Linked DNA regions of Homo sapiens: region 2 is linked to region 1. Evidence: promoter capture Hi-C in human tissues and cell types (Jung and others, 2019). All regions are on one chromosome and are shown on one strand. Each heading gives the region's core, a stretch centred on a gene start or on the middle of the fragment in contact. The rest is flanking DNA. Distances are from core to core; before and after follow the strand shown. Region 1 holds the start of FAM215A (family with sequence similarity 215 member A). Region 2 holds the start of LOC105371789 (a long non-coding RNA gene).

Evidence for each region. Contacts are between HindIII fragments. The study calls those that stand out against the background at their distance.
Region 2: a fragment that was not itself captured here is called in contact with the fragment with the promoter of FAM215A in region 1 in 1 of the 25 tissues and cell types used here (IMR-90 fibroblasts).

The regions. Positions count from the first base shown.
Region 1 is chr17:43,914,920-43,918,958 of GRCh38, reverse strand. It overlaps FAM215A (family with sequence similarity 215 member A), which reads right to left and starts at 1,751. Exons shown (of 1, transcript NR_026770.1): 1 at 972-1,751. LOC105371787 (a long non-coding RNA gene) reads left to right here and starts at 1,735. Exons shown (of 2, transcript XR_001752898.2): 1 at 1,735-1,821. LOC107985086 (a long non-coding RNA gene) reads right to left here and starts at 112. Exons shown (of 2, transcript XR_001752899.2): 1 at 1-112. RefSeq lists enhancers at 287-1,107, 1,108-1,929. The HindIII fragment of the contact is 7,093 bases long and covers 1-4,039 here.
Region 2 is chr17:44,112,984-44,117,022 of GRCh38, reverse strand. All of the region lies in intron 2 of HDAC5 (histone deacetylase 5), which reads left to right. LOC105371789 (a long non-coding RNA gene) reads right to left here and starts at 1,111. Exons shown (of 3, transcript NR_136415.1): 1 at 1,028-1,111. The HindIII fragment of the contact is 6,162 bases long and covers 1-4,039 here.

The DNA of each region.
Region 1 (4,039 bases), core at 502-3,001:
TCATTCAAAAAGGCTGCCAGAGAAAAGGTGTCCACAAGGAAATTCAGGGGTTTTGTTTGTTTGTTTTGGGATTTTTTCTGGAGACAGTCTCACTCTGTCACCCAGGCTGGAGTGCAGTAGTGTGATCTCAACCTCCACCTTCCAGGTTCAAGTGATTCTCCTGCCGTAGCCTCCCAAGTAGCTTGGATTACAGGCACCCACCACCACACCCAGCTGATTTTTATTTTTATTTTTTGTAGAAACAAGATTTCACCATGTTGGCCAGGCTGGTCTTGAACTCCTGACCTCAAGTGATCCTCCTGCCTTGGCCTCCCAAAGTGCTGGGATTACAGGTGTGAGCCACCACGCCCAGCCAGGAAATTCAGTTTCTGAAAATACACCTGTGGATCTCTAGCCTTGAACATCCTTGTGTGCTGCTTTAAATGGCTGATCCTCAATGCCTCCCTTCCAACTCACACACGCTCGCTCCCCTACATCAATCTCCCAGAAAAAGGAACCTATTTTATTCTTTTCTTTTCTTTTTTTTTTTTTTTTTTTTTTTTAGAGACAGGCCTCACCTTGTTGCCCAGGCTGGTTTTGAACTCCTGGCCTCAAGTGATCCTCCGGCCTTGGCCTCCCAAGTTACTGAGTTCACAGGCGCGAGCCACCACGACCAGTGAAGCCTATATTAAGCCCTTTTATGCTCACTCTGCGATACTGCAGAGAGGGCAGGGAGGAAGCAGAGGTGCCCTGGCATCTTCAGCTGGCGGTGAGCAGGGCGCTGAGGGTGGGAGAGGCCGGGCGCCTGGGGATGGGAGGCAGGACCGCACCTTCACAGGGATGCTGCCACCCTACCCCGGAGGTCAGGGCCTCTCGCCCAGCTCTGGCTCTGAGGTCCTGGAGGGAGGGAGATGCTGTTGCGACTCAGAAGATCAGGGGAGGGCCACCCCCATTCGAGAAAAGTGAAAATCCTGAGCCTGAAGCAGAAGTGGAGACGGTTGGAGCGGAGGCTTCAGAGGGTGGCGTTGGGAAGAGGGTCTGGCGCCGCCGTGTGGACTGTTCGGGCTCACGGGGCTGAAGGCTCCGAAGACCGAGACCTGTGAACCGTGGGGAGGCTCCATGCGGATGGGGGCCACAGCCCCCGCCGGAGCCCCCACACTAGCCCTGGACTTCTCCACCGGCTTACGACATGATAGCTCAATAAGCTCCTTATTTAACGCACTGTTGTATCAGGTCCCTGTCGCAGCCACTGGCCCTATAGCCTAATAAAGGAGCGGGTGCACGCATTGGATTGGTGAGCTACCGCCACAGCAACAAGTCCTAATCAACCATCCCAAACGGTGGCTGGAACAAGGTTCTCGCAGGCCTGTGCTTGGGCTTGAACGCTGGGCCGGCCGCTGCGCTCTGTGGCTCCCTGCAGACCTGCGGATCGGCCAGGGGGCTCCGATCCTTTTGGGCCGTGGCTGAAGAAGCAGCGGCTGCACCAGAGAAGTCCTTCTGGGTGAAGGTGGAAGCGCACAGGGACCGCGGAACCGCCCAAGGCGTCTTCCGGCGTAGGCTCAGAACTGGCAGGCTTTCGTTTCTGCTTCATTCCATGGCCAGAGCAAGCCACGTGGGCAAGCCCGAAACCAGGGGGCGGGAAAGTACCCTCCACCCACAAGGAAACCATGGCAAGCGGTGGTTGCAGGTAGGGCTGAGGAATTGGGGCCGATAGTTCTATCTATCCCGGTGAGTGAGGAGACCTGCTTTGGGGGTTGCACAGTCTGGGTCTGCCCTTGCAGTGGTATCTGTCTCTGTGAAGACTCCACCACGGGTCGCCATCAGGTCAGAGACCCTGACAAGGTAAGAATTTGCATTTTCCTCTGCACACAACCCTGTTCCCTTCCCCTCCGCATGCCTAACACAACACTCCCTTCCCCCCCATGCCTAACAGAGAGAAAGGAGAGAGACAGTTCTTGAGCCCGGTTCTTCCTGCTTGAGCTTGGTGTGTCAACCAAAAGAGTCAAACTCTGTAAAATATTTGAAGGGATTTATTTTGAGCCTACTATGCATGACCAATGGCCCATGACAGCCTTCAGCAGATCCTGAGAACATGTGCCCAAGGTGATCAGGCCACAACTTGGTTTTATGTGTTTCAGGGAGACATCGGACATCAATAATATATGCGACATGTACAGTGGTTTGATCTGGAAAGGCTGGACAACTGGAATGGGGTTGGGGAAGTGGACGACTTCCAGGTTATAAGTAGATCGAAAGATTTTCTGATTGGCAATTGGTGGAAAGAGTTAAATTACTGTCTAAAGACTTAAAATCAACAGAAAGGAATGTTTGGGTTAAGATAAGAGATTGTGGAGACCAAGGTTTTATCACGCAGGTGAAGCCTCCAGGTGGCAGGCTTCAGAGAGAATAGACTGTAAATGTTTCCTTTCAGACTTAAAGAGTCTGTTCTATCAGTAAGTCCAAAAGGAGGGATCGTATAATTAGGCATGACTGGGCTCCCCTTCCCATCATGGCCTGAACTAGTTTTCAGGTTAACTTTGGAATGCCCTTTGCTGAGTGGAGAGGAGGAGTCCATTCAGATGGTTGGGTGAGCTTAGAATTTTATGTTTGGGTTTCAGTTGGCATCCAGTATCCCTTCCCCCAAGTTTGGGGCCCCTCCCAAAGGAGATAGGCCTGGGTCTCTCCTCACATCCTTGGGGGTCTCAGAACTGCAGACTCAAACCTTTTGCCTCAAGGAATCCCTTTGATGATTTGCATAAACCCTTGGGAGGCTGCAGGGGGGCTGCTCTGGAGCTGAGACACAGCGAGTCAATCTCCCTCCATCCCCCTTTTGTCTTGTTCTCACCCTGAGGCTGCAGGCCTCAAGTTTTTTGGCTGGATTCTTCCCAAAGCAGGTTGGGGGTGCAGGTACTGTAATCACCTGATGGGTTCTTCCTGCCTACTGCACAGACAAAACCAATCCACTGAGACCATGGCATTGCAGTAAAGAAAGAGTAATTGACACAAGGCCGGGCACACAGGAAATAGTTATTACTCAAATCGGTCTCCCCCAAAACTTGAAGATTAGTTTTTCAAAGATAGTTTGGTGGGCAGGGTCTAGGGTAGGGTAGAGGTGCTGCTGATTGGTTGGGCATGCAGATATAGGGGTATGGAAAATGGTCCTTGAATGCTGAGTCTGCTTCTGGTTGGCAGCCACAGGACTGGTTGAGTCACGAGTCTCGATGGAGCCAGAAATGCATAAAGAAACATCTTTCCTTATGCAGATGTTGATCAGCTGTGCTTACACATTCCTTTGTAAGGACAGGACAGTCTCCCCTAAGTTAGGGGACAAAAGTGACTCCTACTGATGGCATTAGCTCTGCCCCTACTCTCAGATGCAATGCCAGGGACTGTGAGGACTAGAGACCCTGGAGCTGCTGGCTGGGTGTGGTCGGGGGCCAGTTATCAGCCTCTCTGAACTCCATGTCCTTAGTACTAAACAGAAGCCCCTTTTGCAGGGTGGGCACTGGGAAGCACTGTTGGGGCCATCCTTTGTTGGTGGCCTCTTCTCTTCCATCTCCTCTGGGTTTTCACGGCTTTTTCAGGAGCAGGCCTTGCCACCCTGAGTGCCCTCCATGACCACAGCTACCTTCTGAGGAAAGAGGCCTCGGGGGTCCTCTCTGCATGTAGTTGCCGGGCAGGCCTCGCCTGGCTGTATATGGGAATCACCTGGGGAACGTTACAAACCACTATTGTGTTGCCCTGCCTCCCAGAGATTCTGCACCTTGTATTAACTGAGCACCTAGAGCCAGGTGTGGTGATGCACACCTGTAGTCCCAGCTACTCAGGAAGCTGAGGTGGGAGGATTCCCTGAGACCAGGAGTTCAAGATTAAGCCTGGGGAAACTACTGAGACCCCCATCTCAAAATTAATTAATTAAAAAATACTGAGCACCTACTCAATGGCCAGCACTGAACTAGGTGCTGGAGTTACAGTGATCACTAAGATATAATTGTTGTCCTCGAAGAACTTCAGTCAGGTGGGAATAGATATTTATTGAATGGAATAATATTTCAAGAAA
Region 2 (4,039 bases), core at 557-3,056, 200 kb before region 1:
GGGCCTTAACCTCCGTGTGCAGGTGCGTGGCATTGGGTGGGAGTGGGGTGACGTGTGTAGAGGAGTCTCGGCTCTCCTCTGAGTCCAGGTAGACTGCCTCTCTTCCTCTTGGGCCCTTCATATGGTAGATTGCTAATCTGGGGTCTTTTACTCTGAGATTTCCTGTTCCTCTTTGTTCCTAGGACCCTGTCCAGTGCTGCCAGAAATAGTCTATTTGGGGGACTCTAGGCAGCTTGATGTGCAGCTGGGTCTGGATGTATGCCTGTGAGGCTGTGTTCTAGTGGCCTGAGCTGGACCCTCAGCAGTTTCCCAGGAGGGTCCTGGGGCAGTGTGGTCAGAGTAGTGGCTGTCGTCTCCTCCTCCTCGGGTGTCTCCTTCCACACAGTGTTAAAGGTCCATCTTGCTCAACTTTAGCTCTCCACGGCCCATCGTACTCCTCATCTTTTTTATGTAGGGGTAGGTGGATATTTCTCCTTTTAGAGATAGGGCAATTGGGGCCTAGGATGAATACCCATTTGCAGGATTGTACAGAAGCAGCATCAGGGAGGAATCCAGACCACCCCACATTTTCTTCCCCATCATCCTTTCTGTAGGGTTTGCTGTTCTCCTTCAGATATTCCTCCCTCTGCCCTTGCCCTCATTCAGCCCCTAGGGGCTGGGACAGGTGGGCTGCCCAGCTCTGCCCTCTTGCTTGCCCCTCTGAGGCTGGATGGCGAAGGGAAAGGAGAGGCCTGGGTCCTCATCTGTCCCTCGTGCATCTTGGCTGGACACTACCCCAGCAAGCTCAGCCATGTCGGGCAGTAGTGCCAGCTACTTCTTTCCTCTGAGTTGTGACGCTGACCTGTCCAGGAGCCATCTGCAGTCCCTGCTTCCCATGGGGCTGGGGTCTAACTCTTGGCCAAGGGAATTGAAGCTGCCTAGCGGCATCTGTTGGTGGCTTGGAAAGGATTTTTCCCAGCTTTGGGGTTTCTTTCCCTTGCAGGGAAATGTGATAATCAACCCAGGATAGATGAAGTTATTGGGTTACCTTTCCAGATGCTGGCGGTCCAAGTTTCCCTTGCAGCTACCTCTGTGGGAGCTGACAAGAGTGTTGGAGGAGCTGGACGTGTCCACCAACGCAGGAGGCTGGCAGCTTGAGAGCCACTGCTGAGCCCTGGCCAGGAGGGGCGTCCTGAGTGGGCCTGTGGAATGGGCCCCGCGTCCTGCCTGGCTTTCCAGCTCCCCCCAGCAGGGGGAGATGCTGTCTTCTCTGTGTTGGGGAAAGAAGGAAAAAAGGAGGGGGCCAGGGATTGGGAACCTCATTTTAGGATTGTTGAGAGGCTTTGGAACTGGGGCCACTGCTTGGGGATGTTTGCTTGAGGCCCTTCCTGCAGAGTGTTCCTGGGGTTCTGGACTGGCTTTCCCAGTTGTGGGGTTCCAGCTGCCCTGGGCCAGGGAGATAGTCAGCCTCCCCCCAGCTCTTCCTTTCTGAGGGGCCTAGCGTCTGCTATTCCCAGAGCTTGGGCTGGCATCTGGGCTAGGGCTGGGGTGCCCAGCGCCTGGCAGAAGCCTGGAAACCACATGCCTTGGAACTCGGCGGAAGTAAAGTGAGACCACCGATTGAAGCCAGAGCACGCGGGTGTCCACTTCCCTGTAGAGAGCCCCAAGAAGGAAAGGTATGGGCCATGGGGCAGGAGATAAGAGGTGGGAAGGAAGGAAATGGTTAGTCCCCAGGGTCTGCTGCAGCCCCTGAGCGCCTCCCACCTTTTCCTCACTTCCCTGAACACTTGCTCCTCTTTCCCCAGAGTAAAGGACAGTAGGCTTTGTAAGGGGCAGAGCTTCTGGTTCCCCTCAAGTCCTCTCAGCGTAGGAGCTTTTCAGTTTGGCAAGTCCTCACTGAGTATCACCAACAGGCTCAGCCTGTGGAAGACAGAAGAAAATATGAGATGGGCCATCCCTGGTCCTCACAGTGAACATGTTAGCAAGAGAGACTGTTTTGGTGAGGGGCAGCAGGTGGAGACTGTGAGTGATTTCCTTCTGGGGCCCACTGCCCAGGAAGGTGGGAGCTGATGACTTCCCTCTGGCTCGGGCTGCCTACCAGCCTTTGACTTTATTTACCTCTTTTGCAGTCTTGGAATCACAGGCGGAGGCTATTGATGGGGTTGCCTGCTTCCCTGAGACCATTCCCTGATCTCTGCCTTTTCTTCCGGCAAAAGGGGGTTTGAGGATTAAGGCTGTCTTTATTTTTCTGGAACTGTTTGCTTCTGCATGTTCTCCTCAGTGGGGCTGAAAGGCTGACAGAACTTTCCCTCAGCTCAGACTCGGCCCAACCAGGTTGGAGGAGCTGCCCAGGGGCCTGGGACCCAGGCCAGCTCTGGTTGTACCCTCTTTGTGCCATTGCCCAGAAGAGCAGGCAAGAGTGAGGCCCACTGTGCAAGCCAGTCTGGGTGGCAGCGGGGCCATGGAGGAGGCGGCCAGGATCCTTCTCCCCAGTGTGGGAGGGAGACAAGCTTCATGACAACACCTGCCTGCCCAGCGCCTCCCAGAACCTTCACACTTTCTCTCTTTCCCTTTTCCAGGATGGAGGGCAGCAGCCCCCCCCCCCCACGCCTGCTCTCTGGGTGACCAGAGAAACTGGGGCATGGGTGTGGGGTGGAGCCAGGAACCTCGGTGTCCTGCCTTCCAGCCTTGGGCTCTGCCTCCTTCAGAGCCCCCAGGGAAGGCAGGCAGTGAGAAAGTGGGTCAATCCTGGCATGGGGCTGGGGTCTGAGAAGTAGACTCCTGGCCTCCCTTCTCTACTGAGATGCCCCCTGGCACACCTCTGTGCTCACTGCAGAGCGGGACCTGCTTCTCCCCTCCTCTTCCCTGCTCTATCATTCCAAAGAGATTGAAGGCTTAGAATGGAATGGCCAGAGAAGGCAGGGTCAACCCTGAGGGGAAGTAGAAGATGCCAAAGTAGGTGTTCACATTTTTCCTGGACTTGGCTTCAAATGAGAGGGTTCAGCCAACACCTAGCATGGGGCCTGGCTGGCACATGGCAGCTCCCAGGCCATGCTGATGGGCTCCAGCATGACTGGGCTCGAAGGGCAGGAAAGAACAGGAGGGTGGGCAGGTCTGATATCTGGGTCTCAGGGAAGCTGGCATCTCACACTTCATCCAGGGTGCTCCTGGGCCAGCCATTGGCTTTTTCACTGCACACTAAGCAGACCTTGCTTTCTTCCCTTTGGTCAAGGTCCCCCCATCCCCACAGCCTTTGGGCTCAGGAAATGGAACCTGGAGCCAGGGTTAGGCTCTTTTCCTCCTTCAGATTCAGAGGGCTAGGAGGTCAGAGTGCAGCCTTTGAGGGAGGGGCAGAGTGAGTCTGGGGAAGACAGTCCTGGCTCTGGGTGAAGCTCATGTACCCCATGCTTGGTGGGTGCTCCATAAGGTTTGTGGGATGATACATGGGTGTGCTGGTTGGGAGAGAACGGAAAAGAGAAGTGAATTGCAAGGAGGGGGGCTAAAGCATGAAGGATTGAAGTTAGACATTAGGAGGACCTTGTATCACCTGAATCTCAGAAGAAAAAAAGACATTTGTCCCCATCCCAGATCTCCTCTCTTATTGCCTTGGAGGGTTCTGGGAATTGCACTGAGGATTTTCTGACTGTGTCTGATACTTTGCTTCCTACTTGTTGGAGGCTGTAATGGTGCTGGGAGCTGGCTCCCCAGCTCCCGGCTCCAGCCACCTCTGGGTGTCCCTGTCCTGGGTGCTACTATCTTCCCTAAGCAGGAAGTCCTGTTTCCTTCAATGTCTGGGTGCTCCAGGTTCTGGGGGCCCTGCTTTTGAGTCCTGGTAACTGACGCCTTCCTCTTCTTTAGAATAAGGCTCTCCTGCCACACTCTCCTATGCCTGGGGCAGGCAGAGAGAGCTGGGACAGGGCTAGCCAGCCCTTCTGGTTACTCCTAGCGTGGGTGGGAGGAGTCCTGGGCTGGGAGGGGTTGCTGCTCTTGGCTTTCTGGGCTCCCTTGAATCTGCTGCCCATCACCCCACTGATGGAGACCTTCCCTTCCCTTCCTCTTG